Regions from separate parts of the Homo sapiens genome. Here regions 2, 3, 4, 5 and 6 are each linked to region 1. The links are contacts of gene promoters, found by promoter capture Hi-C in blood cells and fetal thymus (Javierre and others, 2016). All regions are on one chromosome and are shown on one strand. The core of a region is centred on a gene start or on the middle of the fragment in contact, and the rest is flanking DNA. Distances in the headings are between cores, read along the strand shown.

The links. The method cuts DNA at HindIII sites, captures the fragments that hold promoters and counts their contacts. A CHiCAGO score of 5 or more calls a contact.
Region 2: a contact is called between a fragment that was not itself captured here and the fragment with the promoter of FAM177B in region 1, in 1 of 17 cell types (neutrophils). The highest score is 5.2, in neutrophils.
Region 3: a contact is called between a fragment that was not itself captured here and the fragment with the promoter of FAM177B in region 1, in 1 of 17 cell types (naive B cells). The highest score is 5.4, in naive B cells.
Region 4: a fragment that was not itself captured here is called in contact with the fragment with the promoter of FAM177B in region 1 in 1 of 17 cell types (naive B cells); the score reaches 5.3 in naive B cells.
Region 5: a contact is called between a fragment that was not itself captured here and the fragment with the promoter of FAM177B in region 1, in 3 of 17 cell types (naive B cells, total B cells and megakaryocytes). The highest score is 7.1, in naive B cells.
Region 6: a fragment that was not itself captured here is called in contact with the fragment with the promoter of FAM177B in region 1 in 3 of 17 cell types (naive B cells, total B cells and megakaryocytes); the score reaches 10.2 in naive B cells.

The regions. Positions count from the first base shown.
Region 1 is chr1:222,735,656-222,738,758 of GRCh38, reverse strand. It overlaps FAM177B (family with sequence similarity 177 member B), which reads right to left and starts at 1,557. Exons shown (of 6, transcript NM_001394345.1): 1 at 1,437-1,557; 2 at 738-855. RefSeq lists an enhancer at 1,774-2,315. The HindIII fragment of the contact is 3,071 bases long and covers 1-2,605 here.
Region 2 is chr1:222,552,425-222,555,782 of GRCh38, reverse strand. It overlaps a transcript of TAF1A not described here. Among named protein-coding and RNA genes, the nearest start is that of HHIPL2, 6.0 kb to the right of the region's middle. The HindIII fragment of the contact is 6,553 bases long and covers 1-3,358 here.
Region 3 is chr1:222,948,417-222,951,878 of GRCh38, reverse strand. All of the region lies in intron 3 of DISP1 (dispatched RND transporter family member 1), which reads right to left. Among named protein-coding and RNA genes, the nearest start is that of DISP1, 140 kb to the right of the region's middle. The HindIII fragment of the contact is 750 bases long and covers 1,610-2,359 here.
Region 4 is chr1:222,889,540-222,892,550 of GRCh38, reverse strand. All of the region lies in intron 1 of DISP1 (dispatched RND transporter family member 1), which reads right to left. Among named protein-coding and RNA genes, the nearest start is that of DISP1, 76 kb to the right of the region's middle. The HindIII fragment of the contact is 2,250 bases long and covers 238-2,487 here.
Region 5 is chr1:222,969,057-222,972,484 of GRCh38, reverse strand. The region is part of intron 3 of DISP1 (dispatched RND transporter family member 1); the gene reads right to left. Among named protein-coding and RNA genes, the nearest start is that of DISP1, 160 kb to the right of the region's middle. The HindIII fragment of the contact is 1,224 bases long and covers 1,348-2,571 here.
Region 6 is chr1:222,988,351-222,991,545 of GRCh38, reverse strand. DISP1 (dispatched RND transporter family member 1) reads right to left here. Exons shown (of 9, transcript NM_001377229.1): 5 at 798-921; 6 at 1-26. Among named protein-coding and RNA genes, the nearest start is that of TLR5, 150 kb to the left of the region's middle. The HindIII fragment of the contact is 3,407 bases long and covers 95-3,195 here.

The DNA of each region.
Region 1 (3,103 bases), core at 308-2,807:
CCTTGGGAACATTGCCAGCTTCACACCTAGATGTCGGTATTTTGTAAGTGATCTTCTTTTGGCTTTGGTTTAATTTTTTTTTTCTTTTTTTTGAGACACGGTCTTGCTTTTGCCCAGGCTGGAGTGGTGCAGTGGTGCAACCTCGACCTCCCACAGGCACGTGCCACACGCCCAGCCTTTTTTTTTTTTTTTTTGCAGTTTTTGTAGAGACGGAGTCTCCCTATATTGCCCAGGCTGGTCTTGAACTTCTGGACTCAAGCGATCCTCCTGCCTCAGCCTCCCAAAGTGCTGGGATTACAGGCATGAGCCACTGCGCCCGGCTCAGTTTAATTCTTGGGAGCACCTCTACCTTTTGTTTCTTAAAAACCCCAAATACAGACTATGAAGGATAGTTCCTAAGTATATAATGTAATTAACAGGCCATATAATCTCTCTGACCTTTTAAATATTGTATTACCCCAGGGCTCAGTGATTGGACCTCTTCTCTTTCCTATCTGCTTTCTTGATGATCTCCTTTGGCCCTGTGGCTTTCAATACTATCCACACACAGATGATTGTAACATTTATATTCTCCAGGTCAGACTTTTTCCCTGAGTCTCACAGATCCAACTACCTGCTTGACATCTCTTCTTAGTTGTCTAATGGACATCTCAATCCTAATTTGTCTAAATCTTTGCTCATGCTTTCAGTGCAACTCTCCCTCCATCCCCCCAACACACACATACTCACACATTTACCTCTACTCTTCTGGCAGCCTTCTCATCTCAATAAATGGCAACTCTGTTCTTCCAGTTGCTCAGGCCAACAACACTAAAGTCATTCTTGGTTCTTCTTTAATCACACCTCACATCAAATCTGCCAGGAAATTGTCTTGGATATTTCTGGAATCATACTTTTCATTACTCCACTGCTACCACCCTGGTCTATCATCTCTCACCCTTGCCGTCGTCTCTCACCTAGATTATTGCAGCAGCCTCCTAATTGGCCCCCTCCAGTCTACGCTCGAAAAGGAGCCAGAATTGTTAAATCCTAAGTGAGACCATGTCATGTCTTTGCTTAAAACTCTCCAGTGGGTTCCCGTCTCACCTAGAGTAAAAGCCAAACTCCTCATAATGGCCTACAAGGCTGTATACCTAACCCCTACGAGCTTTCTGACGCCATCTTGTACTACTCTCCCACCACTGACATCACTCTAACCCCACGGGCCTTCTTCCTGCAATTCCCTGACCACACAGGTCCGCCCTCTCTCTCTGCAGAGAGCTCTCTGCTGGCTGCTCTATTAGTCTTTCTTTCCTTAGACTGTTTCCTTGCTCATTTCCAGTCTTTAACTCAAATGGAGACTACACTGAGCTCCGCTTTCAAGGCAACCTCCCATTGCCTTCACCACCACCCTCTGCATCTTACCTCCTGTTTCATTTTTTCTCCTTAGCACTTACCAACACTGAACACTCCATATTCCACCTGTCTCTGTCTTCCCTTTCCTCCCTGTCCTGCCCCTTGGCAGAGGGGGAGGGTTTTACCTGTTATGTTCACTGCTGTATCTTCTGCCCCTATGATGCCTTACACGTAGCTGGAACTCAGTATTTGTTTAACAAATGAATCATACATTTAGTTAAGGTTAATGGGTGGGAGGAGTTATATAACAGATTGGAAAAATAAGAACAGACTTGTAACTGTCTTTATTTCCTGCTTTAGAAATTACTATCTTCATTTAATATTTTTCTGATTACATCTATCTACTAATCATTTCAATTAGCTCCTTCACTGAAACACAGCATTGTAATCTGTACCAAGAAAATAACACACTAGTTCTACATCTTGGCATTTAACTTCAATAAGTAAATATACTATTTTAAGTATGTAACACTTAAACATTTTCTAGAGCTCTTTCCATTTTCATTTATCTAGAAAATGTTTTCAAATGGACTGTTAAAATTCAGCTAAGAACTGATGTTGGGTCATTACGCTGGAGCTAATTAGCATTGCTTGCCTGGAGCTGCTGGTCCCCCTTCCTGCTTCCACCTTTCCTTTTTTCTGAGGTGGTTGAAAGGTCAAACCCCTGGTGAGAGGAGAGAACCAAAGCCCCACTGCGTGCCTCAGATGCAGAGTTTCACAGCGTGGTATTCACTGGGTATTCACCGACATTTCTCTAGGCCCCTTCACCTGAAGGAACTGGCCTGCTCCAATCAGTGACTTGCAGTGTGTGTGTCAGGGGCAAGGATAGAGTGAGGAAAAATGTGAAATAACAAATCACTGCCGCTCCTTGAGAATTACAGGAGCATCACCTGGCAGGATTTTTGTATCCTTATTTTCAGTATTAAACCACATACATGCACCCCACTGCCTGCATGCCTGTCCATGCCTGTCCCACTGTGGTGTTTCACAGCATTTTTTACATCATGGCAGATAGAGAAAATTAGTTGTTTGGAATTCTGGAGGCGACCAGCCTGGGAGCTCCAGCCACCTTAAGTGCTGCCCAGCTAGACACCCAGAAGGCTTCGATCAATAGCTTGAGACAAACTACTTGAGAAGCTCTGCATTAGAGAAGCAAATTCAAGTCTTGACATTTTCTCAGGGGAGTGCTCTGAAAGTGACTATATAAGCTTCTACCGACCTCAAGCAAATCACAGGCATTAGATACATTAAATTGCTGAAGTGATAGCTCTGGCTTTTTGGATATGCACAATCAAATATAGTTTTCTGTTTTATAATTTGTCAACTCCCCTTCCAGATTAACTATTTTGATCCCTTTATTACTATAACATTCTTAAATATTTAAATTTTAAGCAAATTATTCAAATGTCAAATAAAATCTTTAGATACAAACTTATGGTAACCCAAAGTGACATTCCAAGTTTATTTTACACACATTAAGAGATAAGAAACCCAGTATTTTCTAAAGCATGAGTACTCTAATTCTGAAAGAATTCTGAATATGGTATTATTTCTGCATGCATTTATACAACGCTAAAAGTGCTGCCTCAAGTTTGCAAGGAATAGAGTTTTCTACAGATTATTGTACAGCGATAATGATACACTCTTTAGCTTAGCGTACCATAGTACAAATACTGTATCATGTTGGCTATTACTAAGCACGAGACAT
Region 2 (3,358 bases), core at 859-3,358, 180 kb after region 1:
ATAATCAAGCTAATTAATATCTTCATTACCTCTACATAATTACCATTATGTATGTATTGTGTATGTATGTGTGATGAGAAGATATAAGATCTTTCTTAACAAATTACAAGTATGTAATACAGTACTGAACTGTCATCACCATGCTGGACATTGGATATCCAGAAATCGTTCATCTTGTATCACTGAAACTTTGTACCATTTGACCAATATCACTCCATTTCCCCCTTCCCTCAGCCCCTGGCAACCATCTTACCCTCTGCTTCTATGAATTGGACTCAGATTTCACATACAAGTGAGATGATCGTGCAGTATTTCTCTTTCTGTGTCTTGCCTATTTTAATTTTGCTCAGCATAATGTCCTCCATGTTCTGAATGGCAGGATTTCTTCCTTTTATAAGGCTGAGCAGTATGTAATTGTAATTTTATAAACCCTATCTTTATTCATCAAAGGACGTTGAGTAATGCTGCAATGAACATAGGAGTGCAGATATCTCTTTGCAACCTTGATTTCAATTCTTTTGGGTATATACCCAGATATTTCTATTTTCAATTTTTTGGGGGAACCTCCATATTGTTTTCCATAATTTACATCCCCAACAGCAGCATACAAGCGCTTCCTCTTCTCTTCATCCTCCCTAGCACTTATCTTTGACCTTTGATACGATTCATTCTACCAGGTGTGAGGCTGTATCTCCTGGTTTGATTAGCATTTCCGTCGTGACTGGAGATGTTGAGCACTTATTCATATACCTGTTAGCAATTTGAATTTCTTTTGAGAAGTGTCTATGTAGGTCCTTTGCCCATTTTAAAGTGGAATTATATTTTTGTTATTGAGTTGTATGAGTTCTTTCTATATTTTGGATTATTAGTCCCTAGCTGATTAATTATATGGAATGTGAATTACATCTCTGTAAAGCTGTCAACACCCCATTCCCTTCCCACCTCCCCTCATAAAAAGAAATAAAAGAATGTTCTATGGAGTCAGAAAGGTCTGGGTTCAAATTCCAGCATGACTGAAGCCCCCCACCTAGCCTGGGCCTCACCTTTATTCTGTAAAATGGGATGGTCTGGAAAGGTTGATGTAAAGTGCTGAGCATGGGTCCTGGTAAATGTTTTTTCTCAATAAATAGAAACATTGTTTTATGTTAACATTTTTGAAAAAGGAAAAGCAACAAAAATTAAAAAAACAGATAGGTGTGCCCTTTTGGACCCAGTTATTTACCTATATTTACAGCACAAGGGCTTTTTCTGCTGGATTGAATTAGAATCTTTGTATTTTAAATATTCCAAAAGGAAACAAGCAAGACCTTTGATGGATGGTCTACAAATAATATGACTAACATCTGAATAAGTCAATCCAAGATTCATGCTTCTAAACCAATCTGCCACCAGGTAAGAGTCGACTCAGTCCCATAAAAAATACGAAGCTGACTTCTATGTTGTTTTCATAGTTATGAAGGTAGCCTTTAGCTCAGTGAGTAGAGGCGGCTCTTTGTTTCCGCCCGTCAGTCCCATAGTGATACCACTGCCAGTTGTTTAATTACAACTCCCCTCCTGCCTATACCAAGAACTCCCAGATAATCTTATCAATGGAACTGAATCTTCAGTCAATACACTCTTCAGTAGGCTGCATCAGACAAATTTTTCCAAATGAAGAACAAATAAAAGTGATAACTACTTTCGTTCTTTTTGGGTACATCCTGATGGAATGAAAAAGATCTGGGCTGTAATTCAGAACACCTGAATTGTGTTGCCATCTCTATTCATCTAAAGTGGGGCCCTAAAATATTTCACTGAACCCCTCTTGGACTTCATTCATTCATATGCTCACTGGTAATATATCTACCTTGCTGACTTAATTGTCTTGAGAGAACTGAAGATCAAATGAAATGCAGTGTGGGGAAATACTTTGTAAACTGTAATGCTTCGTACAAGTGAGTTGTTATACTTTCTCTAATCTGAGGTACAACCTGTTCATCTTTAGACTGTGACAGAGGGAGTCTGAAGGCAGATAGATAGTTACATCAGTAAACTATATGAGAAGCTACTGAGCTAGAACATTTCTTTTTATATTTTTTCTGTTGTGTTCCATGACCTGATTTAGGATAAACACCTGACTCTCAACATCACTTTTTAAAAGGCACTTGCACTGGACATGGTGGCTCATGCCTATAATCCCGGCACTTTAGGAGGCCGAGGGGGATAGATCACTTGAGCCCAGGAGTTCAAGACCAGCCTGGGCAACATGGTGAAACCACCGTCTCTACAAAGAAAAAAAAAAGTAAAAATTAACTGAGCGTGGTAGCACACACCTGCAGTTCCAGCTACTGGCACTCCAGCCTGGGTGACACTGAGACCCTGTCTTGTGCGGGGCGGCGGGGGGGATGTTAAAAGGCACATGCTATATGAAACTGTGTGCGTGTGTGTGAATGTGTGTGTTACTGCTGTGGGCTGAATTGTGTCCCCTAAAAAAGAATGGTTGAAGTCCTACCCCCCAGTACCTCAGAATGTGACCTTATTTGGGGATAGTTTTTACAGAGACAATCATGTTAAAATGAAGTCATTATGGTGGGCACTAATCCAGTATGACTGGTGTCCTTATAAAAGGGGAAATTTGGACACAAACGCACACAGGGAGAAGGAGCACCATGTGAACATGAAGACAGAGCTTGGGGTGATGCATCCACAATCGGAATGCAAGATTGCTGGCAGACCCCACGAAGCTAGGGATCAGGCATGGAGCAGTGTCCCTTGCGGCCTTCAGAAGGAACCAACCCTGCCAACATCTTAATCTCAGACTTCTGGGCTCCCGAGCTGTGAGACAATACATTTCTGTTGTTTAAGCCACCAAGTTTGTGGCTGTGTTAACAGCAGCCCAAGCTAATTTTTTAAAGGATTATGTTTGCTTCAAAAGTGGAAACTGAAGTGATTTCAGATACTCTGTCTGGTCCTAGCTTATAGTTTCAGAGTTATTTTATAAGCTCACCTAATGTTCAGTGAAAATGTCTTTTCTGTTCTTTTCCATCTATAACTTATCTAAAAGCTCCAGTCAACTTTCATTATGATATTCTTAATCCCCTGCAGCCGAATGTCATCTCTCCGTCCTTGGGATCCCTAATGGCAGTTTGTTCCTCCCTTACTGTTACCTTAATCTTATATCTGCCAGTATTATTTGGATACTTTCATCCTTTTTTCTCAGAGCATAAACTCCTTGAAAAAGTTTGTTTTATATGTCAGTTTTCTGTTAAACATTTCTATTCCAGCATAATACTTCACACAAAATAGTATGTATTTACTGAATTGACACCAAGACATCTTTTGTAAAATTATTGCATGATTATTATATAATTACATATAT
Region 3 (3,462 bases), core at 735-3,234, 210 kb before region 1:
CAACAGCTATTCTGTAAATACTTACCGATCAAAGATGGCAATCTATCTATGGTCACCCTATGCTAAAATCTAAGTGTCTTGTCTTGTCCACTCTACTTCTACATCTTTGAAGTCAGGAACCAGACTTTGCAGTTTCCACCTGTCTCCAGCACCTAACACTTACTAAGTACTCATCAAGCACTTGCTAAATAAGTGAATAACTAACTCTGAATTTCTCCATTCATTGCTGCAACATCTTAGAGAAGCATTTGAATGGACTCTGGGTGATCTGAGTAAAGCAGAGACTGTGGGATCTGCGTCAATGATCAGGTTCATGCCACAATGTTGATGAAGTGTTCAAAGTGATTTCTGGCTCAAATTTTCTGACTAACAAAATAATACAATCACCAGGGCTAAGGAGAGGGGAAAGGATGTCATGGTACAGCACATGCCAATAAACAAGAATTCTGGTGGTAGAATTCTTGTCTTTTTAATATAACATGAGAATTCTCATTTCTTACTTTTTTTTTTTTGTTTTAAAAGAGGCCCCTTCATAGAAAATAACTAATGCCCTAAGGGGAAACAAAAAGAAAACCTCTGAGAAAAATGAGTCAGAAATTAGAAAATGAATAAAGAAATGAAAGGAAATGTAAGTTATAAAAATTATACAGTCATAACATATGGGGGTGGCAGGGACAATATTTAGTTAACTTTAAGAGGCTAAGCTAGTCCCAGGGTTCTACGGTTCCCTCTACGCCAAGCATTCTTAACTCTGTATAGCTCTAATTCCTCTAGTGAGTCACATGAAACATTCAAAATGGCCATCTGTCTATGAAATCACCTTAGGTAAATAAAAATGCATTTGGCAGGTACCCAAAAATATCACAGGTTCCCTATCATGATAATGAGTCTGTGGCATTGCCAAGTATCATTTATGGAGTCCTCTGTTACAATCAAGAATATTTCTTTGCAACACCGAATTAAAAGGTAAGTATAGTTTAGATTAGAACTCTAGTGTGCTATTTTTGGATGCAGAACTCCTTATTAATTTTGCAATAATACCACTACTCTTTCACTTTAATACGGCAATAAGAAGATCCCAAATGAATAACTCAAAACTTGCTTCAACCAGCACACGTGGAATGTGACTGGCTTTTGAGAGGTATTTTCCAGCTCTCTGGAGGATAAAGAACAGATCATCAAATGGACTGTTCAGGACGTAGATTGGGGACACCCACAATGACCCTCCGCTCCCACAATCTTGTTCTCTTTACCTTTCTCACATGGGTTTTTTTTTTTTGAGACGGAGTCTCGCTCTGTCCTCGAGGCCGGAGTGCAGTGGTGCGATCTCAGATCACTGCAAGCTCTGCCTCCCGGGTTCAGGCCATTCTCCTGCCTCAGCCTCCCGAGTAGCTGGGACTACAGGTGCCCACCACCACGCCCAGCTAATTTTTTGTATTTTTAGTAGAGAAGGGGTTTCACTGTGTTAGCCAGGACGGTCTCGATCTCCTGACCTCATGATCCGCCTGCCTCGGCTTCCCAAAGTACTGGGATTACAGCGTGAGCCACTGCGCCTGGCCCTTTCTTACATGTTTTAAGAAATATTTTAAAGCTTTGGTTTTTGAAAGCTTTCCCTTCACAACTTTCCTCCACTTTCCATGTTTTGCCTCCTCGAGTCCCTTCATTCATTTCTAGTCATCTTTCAAGGGCCATTCATGTTCTGTTCTTCTCAGTCAGACTGTCCCTAACCTCAATAACCTACAGGGATCCTTCCAGGGGATCCTTCCCACCTCTCAACTCTTAGAGTTATTTATTGTTTCTACTGCAAAAGAAATATCTTCTTATTCTACTTATTTTATTTTTAATTCCCCAGGTGACTCCAAAGATGATCAGCTAGGTTTAGGACTTGTTGGTATAAGTCTTGCCTCATGGTGAGGAGAGACTATTTTCAGCCTTTTAAAATTCCTTATTGTGGCTGGGCGCTGTGGCTCATGCCTGTAATCCCAGCACTTTGGGAGGCTGAGGCAGGCGGATCACTTGAGGCCAGGAGTTCAAGACCAGCCTGGTCAACATGGTGAAACCCCATCTCTACTAAAAGTACAAAAATTAGCTGGGCGTGGTGGTGTGCGCCTGTAATCCCAACTGCTCAGGAGGCTGAGGCAGAAGAATCCGTTGAACCCAGGAGGTGGAGGTTGCAGTGAGCTGAGATCGTGCCACTGCACTCCAGCCTGGGCGATGGAGCAAGACTCTGTCTCAAAAAGAAACAAATAAATAAAATAAGATAAAATAAAATTCCTTATTGTTCTCAATTAGACATGTTAATTAAGGGCTGAATAATGTATATGAGGACAGGAATCTACAAATATAAAAGCCTGAAGCTTTAAAATGAAATCTAAAGCTTTAAAATAAAATCGATTTAAGCTACTTAATATTTGGCAATAATTAAAATAGACATATTAAATGTGATCCTTGCAATAATCTTTATTTTAATTTTATGTATTTTTTTTTTTGAGAGTCTCCCTCTGTCGCTCAGGCTGGAGTGCAGTGGTACGATCCTGGCTTACTGCAACCTCCACCTCTCGGATTCAAGTAATTCTCCTGCCTCAGCCTCCCAAGTAGCTGGGACTACAGGTGCGCACCACCACACCAGGCTAATTTTTGTAGTTTAGCAGAGACAGGGTTTCGCCATTGCTGGCCAGGCTGGTCTCGAACTCCTGACCTCAAGTGATTGGCCTGCCACAGCCTCCCAAAGTTCTGGGATTACAAGCTCAAGCCACCACGCCTGGCCTTAATTTTATTAATCGGAACACTAAAAAGGAATTTTTTTTTAAAAAAAACACACAGATGGTTGATATAATGAATCTTTTAGAAAGATTTATTAAAGCTTAAAGAATCAAGAGGGGATGAAAGAGAGTCTACTATACAAAAGGTGGTAAGTAGCAAATGGCCTACGTTAAAATTATATTTTCTATCTGATTGATTCTTTAAAACATTCTCTATGGCTTAAGTGCTTTATAAACAAATAAAAACTTTAGAAAACACTTTCAAATACAAACAGGTGGGCCCATTTGTGGTATAGGTGCAAATAACAATAAAAATTGATAGCACTTAGGATCTTCCATCACCATACAATTTTACTCTAAGGCGGTCAATGTTTAACACATCCTTTAAAGTAATGTGAAGTCATAAATACACCTTAAACATTAATTGAATAACATTTCATTAAGTACTTACTTGACCTTATCAATTTAAAAAGAACTTAAAAATTACATAGCAATAAACCACAATAAAGAAAACTAAAAAGACTTGAAGTTCCTGGTCGAGATCAACCTCTAGAACCTTTGTTACAGTAAGTTCCTGAAAGAGTTGCGTAGAATAATCAAAGGCAGTAAAGCATGGTACAACATCCTCATTTTCAGAATTCCTTACCAAGGACATCCTGTGCAGACTTTCCCAAACTGCCCTGTTCTCCCATACATAGAT
Region 4 (3,011 bases), core at 113-2,612, 150 kb before region 1:
CTCCTAGCAACATTAATAGCATTACAAAGAATCACATGTCCAAATGACCAATTTAAGATTTTGCTGTCAAAACTTATTATTTCTCGGGACACCACTCACTGGAATCATATACAAAATATACTATGTGAATAAGCTTATTCATACTTACGTTATTTGCAAGAATGATTCACCATTAGCAGTAGTCAGGGCTAGGAATACACACTAGTACACGGCAAAGCCACAATAAGACGTGAAGCTTTCTGTCCTGTGTTCCTCTCCAGCTTCCCAGAAATAGCCATCTTAACCTTTGACTCTCTGTGTCATGTTTCCTGCTGTTGCTGCAGACTTGATGTCCATGAATTTAATCAGTAACCTCTGCCTTGACTGCTAAACGTGAAGGAAAATTACAATACCCTGCCTGTTTTCCTGATTTCCCCACCAAATTTTTCAGCATTTGGGAATCTAGAAAAACATAAAATTCCTGAGAAATGCCAGGAAGCAAATCCTAAATGGGAACACTTCTCTTACGTATCTTTATGTAAGGTATCACTCCCTCCTCTCCTCTCCTCTCCCCACCCCCATTAATTTTCTTGCTCTTGGTTTTCAGTCATACAAGATCTTCCTAAGCTCTCTACCATCTTCTAAAACTTGTATGTGCTTCCCTGTATCACCTTCCCTTCATTGCCAATTCTTAAGATAGTTGTTTATATTTACTCCTTCTTCTTCTCCATTGGCCTTTTACTCCTCAACACACACACACCCAAATCCTGGCTTCCACTTTCACTATTCTATAACCTGTTGTACTCACTAATCACCTCAAACTGGCAAATGAGATCAGATCTCTCTCCAGGTCTCATCCTACTTTACCTTCATGTAGCATTTGATGCCATCAACCAATCCCTCCTTCTCAAAACTCTCTTCTAGCTTGGTTTCCCAAGCAGTAATCCATCTACTTTTTCTTACTGCATATTGTTTTTCCTGCTTTTTTGTTTTTTTTGTTGGCTTTTTATTCTGGCCCCCTCTTTAAATATGGATGTTTTTTAAGGTTCTAGGTCTCAGCCCTCTCATCTAAAAGCATTCTTCCTGAGTAATTTTAGCCTACTTTTGACCTATAATATAGTTTACTTCCAAATCCTTATTTCCAGCTTCAATCTTTCCCTTGATCTATAGAAAGAAATTTCTATCTTTCTACTGGATATCTCTACCTGAAAATGGTGAAAATACTTTCATCACAGCTATAGGTAGGAAATTATCTTTGATTATTCCTTCCTTCACAGCATGTTCAGCTGGTCATTAGGTCCCCTCTATCTATTCTACCTTCAAAATGTCTCCGGAATTGTCACTTCACTCTTCCTCTCAGTTTCTATGCTTCAGCTACACTTCATTTCTTAAATGAGCCATGCTTCTCCAACACAATACCTTCACACATGCTGTTCTCTCTTCCTGAAAAGTCATCCCCCCTCCTCTCTTCATCTAGCTAACTCCTGGTATTACGGGTTGGATTATGTCCCCCTCAAATTCATATATTGAAGTCTTAACCCTCAGTACCTCAGAATGTGACCTTATTTGGAAATAAAAGCTGTTGTAGATGTAATTCGTTAAAATGAGTTCATACTGGAGTAGGGTGGGTCCCTACTCCAGTATGACTGATGTCCTTATAAAAAGAGGAAATCTGGACACAGACAAGCACATGGGGAGAACACAATGTGAATGTGAAGGCAGATCAGGCTATTGTGTCTACAAACCAAGTAACACCAAAGATTTCCAACAAACCACCAGAAGATAAGAGAGAGGCATGGAACAGATTCTCCCTCATAGCCCTCAGAAGGAACCAACCCAGCCTACATATTGGTCTTGGACTTCTAGCCTCCAGAACTGAGAGACAATACATTTCTGCTGTTTAAACCACCCAGTTTGTCATACTTGTTATGGCAGCCCTAGAAAACTAACACCTAGTTGTAGCTCAGATTTAAGCTCAAATGTTACTTCTTCCAGAAGTCTTCCCCGATTCCCCCAAAATGAACTATCCCTTATCTCCCTCATTTATCAGCTCTCATAAACACTCATTGCTTTTCCTTTACAGCATTTATCATATTTATCTATGTGATTAATTATACTAAAATTATCTCCTCTACTAGTCTGTAAAGTAGATCAGCTCAGGTACTTCATTAGTTCTCCCTGTATTACTCACTTTGAAGTACTGATCCCTATCTGAAATGATCTTAATCATTTATTTAAGCACTTACCACATTTATTACTTATTTCTCCCTCCACAAAGCACAACCCTAAATTATAGAACAGTGTCTGGCACATAGTTGGTGTTCAACAATTATCTACCAAATGAACTAATGCATAAACTCCAATAGAAGAACCCATAAATGTTTTGCTCACTAATGATTATATATCCAGTTCTTAACATATAGAAAGCTGGTCATATAGAAAGCAATAAATAATTATACATGTTGAATAAATGAGCCTACTTAATAAGTATTTCACTATAAGGAAGCTTATCACTTTAAAAAATCACTTGTAAATATTAACAGTTTGGAGATGATAACCTTTCATATGCTAAAGTAAATCTTTTTTAGTTACATTAATTTACTTCTACTTTCCAGTTGATATTTAATATTTAGAAACATATGCCAATAAAACAGCTTGAAAGGCACAGCTCTAAGCTATGACTGGTTTCAAAATGATTTAAATTCATAGAATAAAAATACAGAACTTCACTACTTCCTTGGTTAAGGTTTCTGCTCTGAAACAACAAAATGGAAAAGTACAAGTGTAAAAGAAGTTTTCAAGATAATGAAATCAGAAATTGTCTTCATTTTATATTACTGCAGTAATGCTGACAACAGTAAGTAATTTTTAAAAGATATTTTTACCCATTATCCCATGTCTCTTAACCTAACAGGCATTTCCTGTTTCTGTGTTTTGTGTAGTCTTTGCCCCAAGGCATATATAGTTCATGTAGTTATAATAAAACGTGGCTCTGTGAAAAAAAAAAAAAATAGTTGCATGGGGAAAATGAT
Region 5 (3,428 bases), core at 710-3,209, 230 kb before region 1:
AGAAATAGGAAGTGGCTAAAGTTTCTTGAGTAACAACTGATAGGATAAAAACACTATTTTCGGAGGACTGATTTGGTAGCAATGTGTAGGATGAATTAGCTAGGGGAAATGCTAAAGGGAAGGAGAGCAGGTTAGGAGCTACTGCAGTGACCTAGAATAAAGAGAAAAAAAGGAAAATAATCTTTAAGTAATTTAGAAAGCCTCTGACAATCTTATCAATATGTGAATCAAAATTATAAGCATCTATTGTCATAAATATATATGACATTATAAGAAAATAATTCTGGTGACATTTTGGATAAACCGAAGTTTATATATCCTATGCATGTTATAACATATTTCTATGTTCACTATTGTCTAATATTTTATATAATTATATAAGTACAATTAGAAGTGCCTCAAACTATAATCGAAAATATCTACTGAAGTGAAGTTAGTGATAATTTGAGTTACAACACAAATAAGTTGTTCAAAAGATTAGTCTACAGGTTGAGGGTACGGTTTTATAAGTACATTTTGGAACTTACATTAAGCCTAATTCAACAAATATATTTTATTACCTTCATTAAGATACACACACATTTCTCACTTTCAAAATTTTATGGATCTTACATAAAATACTAAAACCTTTCCACATTTTCACTATAAACTATACAAATTGCATAAAGAGTTTTTGTGTTAATTATAACCTCAGTGAAGATATGTTTGCATTTCTGAAAGTAAGTTCAAATTATGTATTTTATATCTAAGATCCCATCTCAAATTTGCTCATTTGTTAACAGGACAAGGCCTTCATCAATGAGACCACAGATCAAAAGTATAAATACAATCATAATTCATCAATGTGCGGATTCTCTTTTCCTCCAACATTTGCTTAGTTTCAATTTGTAGTTTGTCTACATTGTGTTCAATGTAAGAACTGTTACTTAAGCTTAAAATTACAGAAACATTATTAATCTTTCTTAAGTTCATTTCCCACATATCTTGGATCATTTTGTCCCTACAGAATTATTCGGTATCATACAAGGTTGAGTTTGGAAGGTTAAAAGTCACACCTGCTATGAAAAAAAAAAACTTGGGGGGTGTGGGGTTAAAAAATAATAAAAAATCCACTGTATCAAAATGAACTCCAACGGTGTAACCAATACCTTGCAGCTGTTGTGATATCTTCATTTACAGGCCAGGAGGAGAGACATTTCCCTCAAACTTCTATAGAAATTCTTTAGCTATGCTTTTAAGGACAAAAATATACAGTGAAATTGATTTTTCTTCCTGATCTAAACTTTCTCATGCTTAATCTCTAACTTAAAATTTAAATTTTTGTAACTCAAATCATTGTCAAAAGCTTTAATAAGGATCAAAGCAAAACTCTAACAATCAGCGTTAATAAAAATAATACTGATTTAGAAGGTTTTCTTCTCAAAATCTGAGATTAGAAAAGAAAAAAAATCAACTAAACTTAAAATAATTAAACTGAGGAAATAATGAGACTTTTCTGACGAAAAGTAGGGAAAGCCACAAGATGCTGGGGCTGCATGACCTCAAACTGTAATAATGTCCCTTTTACACTTTGGCACTAGGGCAACCAGGGAAAACTTTAAATTCATTGTATTCAATTTGTCACGGTGTAGATTCTGTTTGCAACTCCAGAATCTATTATACATGCCAGTGACACCCAAATACTATGTGACAACTTTTAGAAACAAATTCTAAGTATAATGTATTTTTTAAAAGACGGCAATGAGAAATCAGAGGACCAGTTTCAAACTGGGTGTTAATCTTGGGTTTTAGCCTCTTTGGCTTCAGTCTCCTCTGTAAAATAAGGAGAGTTAGATTAAATTATTTCTAAGGTCCTTTCCTGCTGTGAAATTCTATTGTATTTTCCTGTGGAATTTTAGATAATTCAAATCACCACATATTTTAGTCTCCTAAAGTATTTCAACACTCTGGCATGGCTAAAGCTAGTGAGCCAGGTTCCTGTAATCAAAATTTGATGTTAAAATATTTCACATGAATAGGCAATAAAAATGATCCCCCCATAAGGTAGGCAAGAACTAGTATTTTAAAATGCTTTGAAAAATAATGCCGGCTCTTTATGTGAACGGCTAGAGACAGACTTTTTAAATGACTAGATAAATGGCTTAATAAAAAAAAAGAGCTCAAAAATGCTTGCTAGGAAGACAGAGCAGAATTCTCCATCTGTCTGCCTTAGATGAAGGTGGAGATTGATGAACGGGTGACACTAATAACACATCCGTGCTGGTGCATGTCACACTGTAGGAAATAACGCCAGGTTACTAAAGATGGTCATGTTGAGATTGCTCAGGAATCGTCTAGTTTACCAACCGAGTGAGTTTTATCAGAAGAGCAAATACGAAAGAGTGCTCAAGTTAAAAGGGGTATTTAAAAATTTCCCAAAGTACTTTTCCTGAGTTTCTCATTTACTATCTCAGAAAGGCAATATACGCCCCTCTTTTTTCATTCTAAAAATTTTCCTTTAGTAGACTTTTTCACTTAATGTTTTGTCTATTCTAAAATATAAAGTTTAATTTTTAAAGGAAGAGGAAAGCTTTAATGAGGAATATATTTTCTGTATTAATGTTGGTTTGTTTTCTGATTATAAAACTAACACATTTTCCTGAAGCCTAAGAAAATGCAGAAAATTACACAATTACCCATATTCTTACTACACAGATAAAACATTGTAACTCTTTTTGATCTATTTTCTCTGAATATTTTTCCTTTTTGCCTAAATATAGAAATTAAATATAAACAAAATTATGATCACACTAGATGCATAAAGTATTATCACTTTGGATTAGCATTTTCCATATAATTAAAATCTTCTGAAAACATGATTTTTAGTAGCCACATGTTCCATTATATTTGCCATTACTTATATATCACACAATTGTAACCATACTACTACGTTACGTTAGATTGCAACTTGTTTCTCATTTATTTGTAAGAATCTTGAATTAAAGCTAGGAAACATCCCCAATTGTGGCAAATAGTTTTCCTAGTTTGTGGTATTTTTCAAGATGGTTTTTGGATAGGCATTAAATTTTTTTTCAACACTTTGTATTTTTCTTTGTAATTTTTTTTTTTTTTTTTGAGACCAAGTTTCACTCTTTTTGCCCAGGCTGGAGTGCAATGGCATGATCTTGGATCACTGCAACCTCTACCTCCTAGACTCAAGTGATTCTCCTGTCTCAGCCTCCTGAGTAGCTGGGATTACAGGTATGCACTACTGCGCCTGGCTAATTTTGTATTTTTACTAGAGATGGGGTTTCACTGTGTTGGCCAGGCTGGTCTCGAACTCCTGACGTCAGATGATCCACCCACCTCAGCCTCCCAAAGTGCTGGGATTACAGGCGTGAGCCACCGTGCCCAGCATTTTCTTAGTAATTTCTATGACTGCTTTTACA
Region 6 (3,195 bases), core at 549-3,048, 250 kb before region 1:
ATTGCTGTTCCTCTTGGTTCAAAACCCTAAGGCAAAATTACAGGTGCTCATTAGTATATTTCATTTCAGGCTAAGTACAGTTACAATAAAAGCTTGGGAAAGCAATGTCAAAGTGATATATAGCTTTCAACAGAAAATATAGCTGTTCCTCACAGCTACTCCAGAGGTGACTGCATTAAAACAAGATGCCTTGACATGATAATCATCACCTATTTGCTGTGACAAAACAGTTTGATTCTTTGGTATGTTACATGTCTAAAGAAAGTTTATCTTTCCAACTCATGCCTAAGCATTTAGTAAATACTTACTTTTATCTTATAAAAATTATGATCAAATTAAATCATGTTACGCACTGTATTTTTACAAAGAGTGTTTCATTATCCTTGATCATATTTTCCTCATTATTCCACTCCAGAGAAACATTTACTTAAAAACAGACTCTGTGATCTGTTAGTAATACTGAAATTCCTTTAACTTCTTTGGGAGAAAACAGAGACAGTGTTAAAGACTTTATGAGAATAATTTTGTAGAAGGCAGATTCTCCAATTTATTGCTTTTTAGCTTAAACATGGGGACCAAGAAGCAAACCTTCCAGATTTTTGAGGGTAAACAAGTTCCTTGACCTTTTAAGAACCTGATAATACAGATAAAGTCATGTCTTTACTTTTCAGAAAGAGAATTGTTGCTTGAGAAGGTTTTTAAAGAAATGGGTTACTAAATAACATAATGCAACATGTATTAAAATACACAATATTTGGAGATGATTTTAGGCTAAAGAAAACATAAAAGTTAGTTACCAGCAATGGATCAGAGAAGTCAGGGAGCTCTGGCACTAATACTCCAACCAAGGCACAGACTACGATGAACATGGTGCACATGCCCAAGACCACCACCGGCCAGTCGGCTATCAGGGCTGCATAACTACAAAACACAAAGAAGTGTCGGCTATCAGAGCTGCATAACTACAGAAACACAAAGAAGGCACAAAGAAGGCCCTTCGCAGAAATATTTTTGGTACCTAAGACAGCAATTTATTAAATCCTCATATTGTAGACTACATACAGGTGTTTATCAATACAATATCTAATGGGATTATAAATATTTGTATGTAATTGTAGTAGAAAGTTACAAGATCATTGTCCCCTCATTTTTGTGATCAAGTAGCACTTTATGCCACAGGCTATTGAGAGTCAGAATAATGTTCATATATGACAAGTAACATTTTATATCTACATCTATGCCTGTAAAGAGATATAAAATACACACTTCATCAGTGGAAAGAAAATAAATTTTAACAGAGGATCCATACTCCAATCAGTGTCTTTCAGAACTTTTGTTTCTCTAGTTATTCCCTTTCTCCACACCTTTACTCTCAGAGTTCTTAAACAGTGAGAGTCTATAAACAGGTTCATACAGTTCAGATCTTAAAAATAACCAAACTAAGGGCTGAGCATGGTGGCTCACACCTGTAATCTCAGCACTTTGGGAGGCTGAGGCGGGTGGATCACAAGGTCAGGAGTTCGAGACCATCCTGACTAACACGGTGAAACCCTGTCTTTACTAAAAATACAAAAAATTAGTTGGGCATGGTGGCACACGCCTGTAGTCCTAGCTACTTGGGAGGCTGAGGCAGGAGAATCACTTGGACCCGGGAGGTGGAGGTTGCAGTGAGCTGAGATCATGCCACTGCACTCCAGCCTGGGCGACAGAGCTAGATTCTGTCTCAAAAAAAAAAAAAACTAAACTAAACACTTCCCATAAACCTGTAACTTTCCTTCTAGCTAAAACTACAGTGAGCATATCCACTAGATATGTGAGTTCCATGAGAGCAGAAATTCTTGTCAGTGGAAGTTGATCAATAACTATCTATTGACTAAATGAACAAACATCTGATGCTTGTACTCTCCAGCTACTACAATCTGGTTTTAGTCTCTTCCCACATGTGCAGAACTGTCTCTATTACCAAATCCTAACACTGGGCCCTTTCTTCCAGATGCGCTTCCCACACCCTCATTTGTTACCTCAAATTGAAAGATCTGTTTCTGTATCCCTTCCATGAGGTCCTGGATCACACGTTATTATTTTGGCACTTCCAAGTCTTGATATGAGCTGAGTACCCAACAGAAGCTGACTAAACTGAACGTTTTCTAAAATTCAAAATGCATCCTGCAAACTTCTGGCTTCTTGAATCTTTATTAGAAGAAAAGCAAGACAAAATATTTAACTTGTGGACCACTACTCTCAAATTCTCAGTAATGTTAGCTCATTTGGCTGCTGCAATGGCTATTTCTGGCTCATTTGAAATAGGATTCTTACTCATATATTTTTGAGTTATTTCTTCAAAATCATGCTAGTAGTTACAAATAATTCTGGTGGCTCTAAATGTCAGTCTGAAAAAAAGCTACTATATGTCTCTAATAATAGACTGCCAATTTTTATAATCTGATGTCTTAACTTTATTGATCTGGCTTTGTGGAGATATTTGCTTCAAATTATAATTCTAGTAAGGATATTAAAATATAGAGCAATTATGCTTTAAGGGAGCATGTGCACAGGCACTTTTCACTGCTGCTCTTTTAAAGTAATCTTAAAAGGCCAGACACAGTGGCTCACGCCTGTAATCCCAACACTTTGGGACGCTGAGGCAGTCAGATCACCTGAGGTCAGGAGTTTGAGACCAGCCTGGCCAACATGGTGAAACTCTGTCTCTACAAAAATGCAAAAATTAACTGGGCATGGTGGCACACGCCTGTAGTCCCAGCTACTTGGGAGGCTGAGGCAGGAGAATTACTTGAACCCAGGAGGCGGAGGTTGCAGTGAGCAGAGATCATATCACTGCACTCCAGCCTGGGTGAGCAACACTCTGTCAAAAAAAAAAAAAAAGAGAAAGAAATAAAGCTATAAAGGAAGGAAGGAAGAAAAAAGAAAGAAAGAGAAGAGAGAGAAAGGAAGAAAAAAGAAAGAGAGAGAGAAAGAGAAATCTTATAAAAATAAATAAATAAATACAAGCTCGTCCTTATTCAGAATACCAGTTGCTCTTGTGCTTTACATAAATTATTATATTGTTCAATTCTCACAACAACCCTTGGAGATGAAACTGCAGCATTGACAAGTTATAGAACTTATTCAATGTCACAAAACTAGGAACCTAGATAGTCTGGTTCTAGTGTCAGGGCTTTTAATCTCTGGGCTGTC